Linked DNA regions of Homo sapiens: region 1 is linked to region 2. Evidence: promoter capture Hi-C in human tissues and cell types (Jung and others, 2019). All regions are on one chromosome and are shown on one strand. The core of a region is centred on a gene start or on the middle of the fragment in contact, and the rest is flanking DNA. Distances in the headings are between cores, read along the strand shown. Region 1 overlaps DUS2 (dihydrouridine synthase 2). Region 2 holds the start of SLC7A6OS (solute carrier family 7 member 6 opposite strand).

Region 1 (3,287 bases), core at 345-2,844, 280 kb after region 2:
AGCTCAGGAGTTTGAGACAAGCCTGGACAACATGGCAAAACTCCATCTCTACCCAAAAATAATAAAAAAATAAATAAAATTAGCTGGGGGTGGTGGCACATGCCTATAGTCCCGGTTACTTGGGAGGCTGAGGTGGGCGGATTGCTTGAGGCCATGAGTTCAACACCAGCCTGACCAACATAGCAAAATCCCATCTTTACAAAAAATAAAAATAATAAAAAGACAGGCAATGGCTCACGCCAGTTATCTTAGCACTAAGGAGGCCATGGTGGGGAGATCGCTTGAGTTGGAGATGGGAGATCAGCTTGGAGTTGGAGATTAGCCTGGGTAACATGGCAAGACCTCATCTCTACAGAAACATAAAAATTAGCCAGGAGTGGTAGTGCATGCCTGTAGTACCAGCTCCTAGGGAGGCTGAGGTGAGATCACTAGAGCCTGGGAGGCAGAGGTTGCCGAGCTGAGCTGATATCATACCACTGCACTCCAGCCTGGGTGACAGTGAGACCCTGTTTGAAAATAAAAATAAAACTAGGCCAGGCAAGGTGCCTCACGCCTATAATCCCAACACTTTGGGAGGCCAAGGTGGACAGATTGCTTGAACTCAGGAGTTCAAGATCAGCCTGGGCAACATGGTGAAACCCCATCTCTACAAAAAATGCAAAAATTGGGCTGGGCACGGTGGTTCATGTCTGTAATCCTAGTGCTTTGGGAGGACGAGGTGGGTGGATCACTCGAGGTCAGGAGTTCAAGACTAGCCTGGCCAATATGGTGAAACCCCATCTCTACTAAAAATACAAAAATTAGCCAGACGTGGTGGCATGCGCCTGTAATCCCAGCTACTCAGGAGGCTGAGGCAAGAGAATCACTTGAACCCAGGAGATGAAGTGAGCTGACATTGTGCCACTGCACTCCAGCCTGGGTGACACAGCAAGACTCTATATAAAAAAAAAAAAAAAAAAAAAAATTAGCACCTGTAGTCTCAGCTACTTGGGAGGATGAAGTTGGAGGATCACTTGGGCCTGGGAGGTTGAGGCTGCAGTGAGCCATGATCATGCCACTGCACTCCAACCTGGGTGACAGAGCAAGACCCTGTCTCAAAAAAAATTTTTTTTTAATTTTTAAATAAAAATAATTTTAAAAAGAAATAATCTCTGATCCAAGGTCTAAAGGAAGAGAACATGTTAACCAGTCCAATATGTAGAAAGAAAATCTTTCCCATTTCATTAATAGCATCTCCAGTCTCCCAATTACTCATTCTTAACCCACATTCCCCACATTCAATCCATCACTGACTTCTATTGAAATAACCTTCAAAATATAACTAACCCACATGCTTTACTACATGCCAATGGCCACAACTGCGCACCAGAAACCCTCCGCTCATCTGTTGCCAGGACTTTAGCACAGCCCCCAAATGTGTCTCCCAAAATCTACACTTGCCCCTTCCTATCCATTCTGCCAGCATGGGATCCTAAAAAGGCAACTCTGATAATACCACTCCCCCGTTTATACCTTTCAATGGCTTCCCACTGACTTTAGGAAAAATCCTAAACCTTTCTAATGGCCCACAAGGCCCTGCATGATCAGTCCCTACCCACCTCTCCAGCCTCACCCTCACCTGTGTCTCTCTCACCCTCCCTCTCGGCCCTGGCCACCCTGGCATTCCCTTTTTTTTTTTTTTTTTTTTTTTGAGATGGAGTCTCACTCTGTTGCCCAGGCTGGAGTGCAGTGGCGCAATCTTAGCTCACTGCAACCTCCACCTCCCAGGTTCAGCCTCCTGCCTCAGCCTCCCGAGTAGCTGGGATTACAGGCACCCACCACCACACCCAGCTAACTCCTGACCTCAGGTGATCCACCCACTTTGGCCTTCCAAAGAGCTGGGATTACAGGTGTGAGCCACTGTGCCCGGCCACCCTGGCCTTCCTTTAAAGTCTCCCACACCAAACTGTCTGCTTCCCTGGGGCCTGCCCACTTGCAGTTCTGTCTGGAATACTCCTCCAACTCAGTCATGCATGCCCATGCTAAGGTCCCCTTGTCCTTGAATGCCCCCTTTGTGAAGATACGTCCCTACAGAAAATCAAATTCAGGTCCCTGGTCCCATGCTTTCCAAACACCCTACATTTCTCTGCAGCTCAGTTACACTCCATGTGTCCACACTGACTGCTGTAGTTTCTTGTTCAATCCTCAGCTCCTCCTGGAGACCACCAGGACAACAAGCTCTACAAGAACAGGAGTGTGGCTGCTTAGTTCACTGCCAGATTTCTAGCACTGAGCCAGGTACATGACCTTTAGAGGCTGCTTAGTAAGGTGTGACTGAATACTTACCACTGTGGTAGCCAAGAGGACAGCCTCTTGTAGGGTGGTTGGTCTGGCAACTTCCTCTGGCACTCAGTCAGAGGTGCCTGACACACCCTGCCTCTAAGGAGGCTCCTCTGAGAAAAACTAGGCAGCCCCCATGCCTTTCCCAGTTACTGCCACAACCACTCACCCCACCCTGAGATCACACCCACATCACCACTTTAGTCACTCATTTCCAATCTCTTCTACCATTCCTTTTAAGGGCTGGTCTCCTCTATTACGCTCAATTTCTTAGACAGTAACCTTGGCTGGGCGAGGTGGCTCATGCCTATAATCCCAGCACTTTGGGAGGCCAAGGCAGGAGGATCACCTGAGATCAGGAGTTCCAGACCAGCCTGGCCAACATGATGAAACCCTGTCTCTACTAAAAATAAAAAAATTAGCCAGGCATGGTGGTGTGCACCTGCAATCCCAGCTACTCGGGAGGCTGAAGCAGGAGAATCACTCAAACCAGGGAGGCAGAGGTTGCAGTTAGCCAAGATCGCACCACTGCCCTCCAGCCTGGGCAACAGAGTGAGATTCCATCTCAAAAAATAAAAAATAATAACCTTAACTTCAGTTACATGGACATAATATCCTGTTAACCTTAAAAAAAAAAGACATTAAAGAAAAATACCTCCAAACATGTTGAGTTTATTTGAGAATGAGAGAAAAGGATTATAATCCAGGATGCACAGAAGGGCAAGCCACAAGTACATCTGGTGACAGAAGGGGAAAAGGAAGCTTTTATTGGCAGAAAGGGAGAGATTTATATAAGTTGCTTAGAAACAGAGTTCATGGCCAGACACAGTGGCTCATGCCTGTAATCCTAGCACTTTGGGAGGCCAAGGCAGGCGGATCACGAGGTAAAGAGATCAAGACCATCCTGGCCAACATGGTGAAACCCCGTCTCTACTAAAAATACAAAAATTAGCTGGGTGTGGCGGCGC
Region 2 (3,261 bases), core at 74-2,573:
CCTGGGTGACAGAGTGAGACCCTGTCTTAAAAAAAAAAATATATATATATATATATATATATAAATATACATATATTAAAATTAAAAATTACCCGAGTGTAGTGGCGCGTGCCTGTAGTCCCAGCTACTCGGTAGGCCGAGGTGAGGATCGCTTGAGCCCAGGAGGTCAAGGCTGCAGTGCGCCTCGATCACACCACTGCACTCAGCCTAGGCAGCAGAGTGAGACTCTGTCTCGAAAAAATAAAATAACAAAATTTATTAAATACCTTCTATGTGCCAGGCACTATATTAGGGACTGGAGCCACCACCACAAGCTAGAGAAGACCCTTGCCCTCCAAGAGCTTAGACTCTAATGAGAGAGTAATACAAATTACAGACTACATGAATGCAAGAAATACACAGAGCGTTGTAGAAAGAGAAAACCAAGGTTACAGAAGGACTCTGAGGAAACTAGCATTTGAGATCTACAAGACAGACCGGGATAAAAGTTGGGGAAGAGTTTTTACAGGTCAGGAATCCTTACCCCAACTTTCCCAAGAAAAGGCCCTAAGGTAGAAAGAACTAGGTTGCATAAGCAAAATGTGCCAAAAGCCTGAGCGACCGAAGCACTTTTGCAGAAGCCCCCCGCTCCTCATCTCCTATCACATCTTCTGCTCAATCAAGCTGGGCCTTGTCGACTTCGGAAAGGCGTTTGGATTTTGTTCTAAAAGCACTGGGAGCCACTCAAGAGTTTTAAGCAGAAGCGTATCTACACTAGGCTTACGCTTTTACAGGACCACTCTGGTTGGCGTGTAGTGAATACACGACTCTCCAATTACTCAGAACAGTGAGTGGCAAAGACAACAGGTCTGGCAATCAGAGAACTCGTGGCCCAGTTAGGGGTGCGATGGTTGGAGCTACTGCGGTCTCTGTGGCTGAGGGGAGGCGCCAGGCACGAGTACTGCGACAGAGCCCCGCGAGTGGCAGGCACCCGGCTGCACTGCAGAGCCGGGGCCAGCCTAGAACCCCGCTCTCCTGCAGGCCCGGGTGTCCCGAGCTGCCCCACGCGGAGGAGTCCAAGTAGGCCCACGCTAGGCTCCTCTGCCGAAACCCTGGTGCCAAGGACACCATGCTCGCTGCACACAGAACCCCAAAGCGACCCCACCTTCCCAGCATACCCAGCGCCTCACCCGCCGCGGGAAACCCTCCGCTCGCCTCCGCTGCTACCACTTTTACCGCGGCCAGCACGCGGGGCGGGACCTCGCAGCGTCGAGGAGCGTGCTGGGGGGCGGGTCCTAAAGCAGAACTGGAAAGCTATCCCATCACACCCCGCGAGCTCCCACAGTGCTCAGCGGCAGCCACTATGGAGGCCGCCAGGACCGCTGTACTCCGGGTGAAGCGGAAGCGCAGTGCGGAGCCGGCGGAGGCTCTTGTGCTCGCTTGTAAACGCCTCCGGAGCGACGCGGTCGAGTCAGCGGCACAGAAGACGTCGGAGGGTTTGGAGAGAGCGGCGGAGAATAATGTCTTCCACTTGGTGGCCACTGTGTGCTCCCAGGTATTGGGCGTGGTGCAGCTGGTGTGGAGGGCATCTTCGGGTGCAGCCGGTACGAAACCCGATCCCTGACCCGCTCGCGAACTCCTGCTTACGCTGGCCTCCGTCCCCTGTTGCCCCCTAGGAGGAACCAGTCCAGCCTCTCCTGCGGGAAGTTCTGCGCCCGTCACGGGACAGCCAGCAGCGTGTCCGCCGTAATCTCCGCGCCTCGGCTCGGGAGGTCCGGCAGGAGGGCCGCTACCGGGTGCTTTCCAGCCGCCGATCCTTGGGGACCACCTCGAGCGGCCAGGAGTCCGAGTACACGCCGGGGAACCCAGAAGCCGCCGGGAACTCGGGCTTTCAGTTGTTAGACCTTGTCCACGAGGAGGGAGAACCTGAAGCCGCCTCTGCAGGCTCCTGCAAAGTGAGTATGCCCCTGAAGGTGGTCGCTGGGCTTCTCAGGATGGTAATGCAAGAAGACTGGGCCCAGTCGCAGCACAGTTTCATCTTAAGGGGATGGATGATCCATCCGGCGTGACGGCCTCATTTTACAGATTTGGTTGTTCATCCAACATGTGTTTACTACGTGCCTACGATATGCCAGGTATTTTTTTAGATTCTGTGGATACAGCAGTGAGGACCTAACATGCAGGTAGACAGAAACAGTAAACAAGTCTATTCAGTGTCAGATGATGATAAGGGATGTAAGGAGGCGGGGAGACAAAGCAGGAAGAGTGGTGCCACTTCAGTGAGAGTGTCACTGAGGAAATGACATTTGAGTGAAGACTTGCAGAAGGTGAATGGCAGGGTATTCCACATATCGAGAGGACTTCTAGGCAGAGAACCTGAAAGTAAAGAGGCCCTTAAGCCGTTTCTTTGCTCCTTGCAAGGTGCCTGGAGCCCGGTGAGCTAGAGGAGAGCAGTAAGGAATTTGAGGGGAGGATGCCTGCTAGGTACTTGCAAGGACATTGCCTTTCACCCTGACTGAGATGGGGATCACTGGAGCAAAATAGAGATAGAGCAGGTAGGAAAATTGATCAAAGAGAGGTTAAAGGAATAGTCCTGGATAGCATATCAAGTTTGAGGTAGATTTAGGTCTAGAATGCAAGTTTTCTCACATTTAATCCAGTGCTTTTCTTTATATTACATTTGCTAACTTCATTTGCAATCACTTCCAAAAAAAGTCTACTACATGCAGCAAAACTACAGAAATGGAAAATTCTCCTTGAGGCTGGGCACAGTAGCTGACGCCTAATCCTAGCACGTAGGGAGGCCCAGGCGGGAGGATCACTTGAGCCTGGGGAGGTCAAGGCTACAGTGAGCCATGATTGTGCGGCAGTGGCATTTCAGCCTAGGTGACAGAGTGAGACCCTGTCTCAAAAAAAAATAAAATACTCCCTGTAATCCCAGCGCTTTGGGAGGCTGAGGCAGGAGGGTCGCTTGAGGCCAGCCTGGGCAACAAAGCAAGACCTTGTCACTACAAAAAGGAAGAGGAAATTAGCTGGGCATTGTGGCACGCGCTTGTAGTCCTAGCTACTGGGGAGGCTGGGGCAGGAGGATCACTTAAACTCAGGAATTAGAGATTGCAGTGAGCTGTGATCAAGTCACTGCCCTCTGGTTTGAGCAACAGAGCAAGATACTGTCTCTAAAAAAAAAACCAGAAAATTCTCAACATAAAGTGTGCCCTCTCTTTTTTTTTTTTTTTTTGAGTCAGAGTCTCACTCTGTTGCCCAGGCTAGAGTGCATTGGCA

The links. Contacts are between HindIII fragments. The study calls those that stand out against the background at their distance.
Region 1: a fragment that was not itself captured here is called in contact with the fragment with the promoter of SLC7A6OS in region 2 in 1 of the 25 tissues and cell types used here (dorsolateral prefrontal cortex).

What each region holds. Positions count from the first base shown.
Region 1 is chr16:68,031,312-68,034,598 of GRCh38, reverse strand. All of the region lies in intron 2 of DUS2 (dihydrouridine synthase 2), which reads right to left. Among named protein-coding and RNA genes, the nearest start is that of DUS2, 9.7 kb to the right of the region's middle. The HindIII fragment of the contact is 8,004 bases long and covers 1-3,287 here.
Region 2 is chr16:68,309,008-68,312,268 of GRCh38, reverse strand. SLC7A6OS (solute carrier family 7 member 6 opposite strand) reads left to right here and starts at 1,323. Exons shown (of 5, transcript NM_032178.3): 1 at 1,323-1,534; 2 at 1,656-1,934. The coding sequence starts at 1,343. PRMT7 (protein arginine methyltransferase 7) reads right to left here and starts at 1,250. Exons shown (of 19, transcript NM_019023.5): 1 at 1,170-1,250; 2 at 93-227. RefSeq lists an enhancer at 1,354-2,318. The HindIII fragment of the contact is 13,375 bases long and covers 1-3,261 here.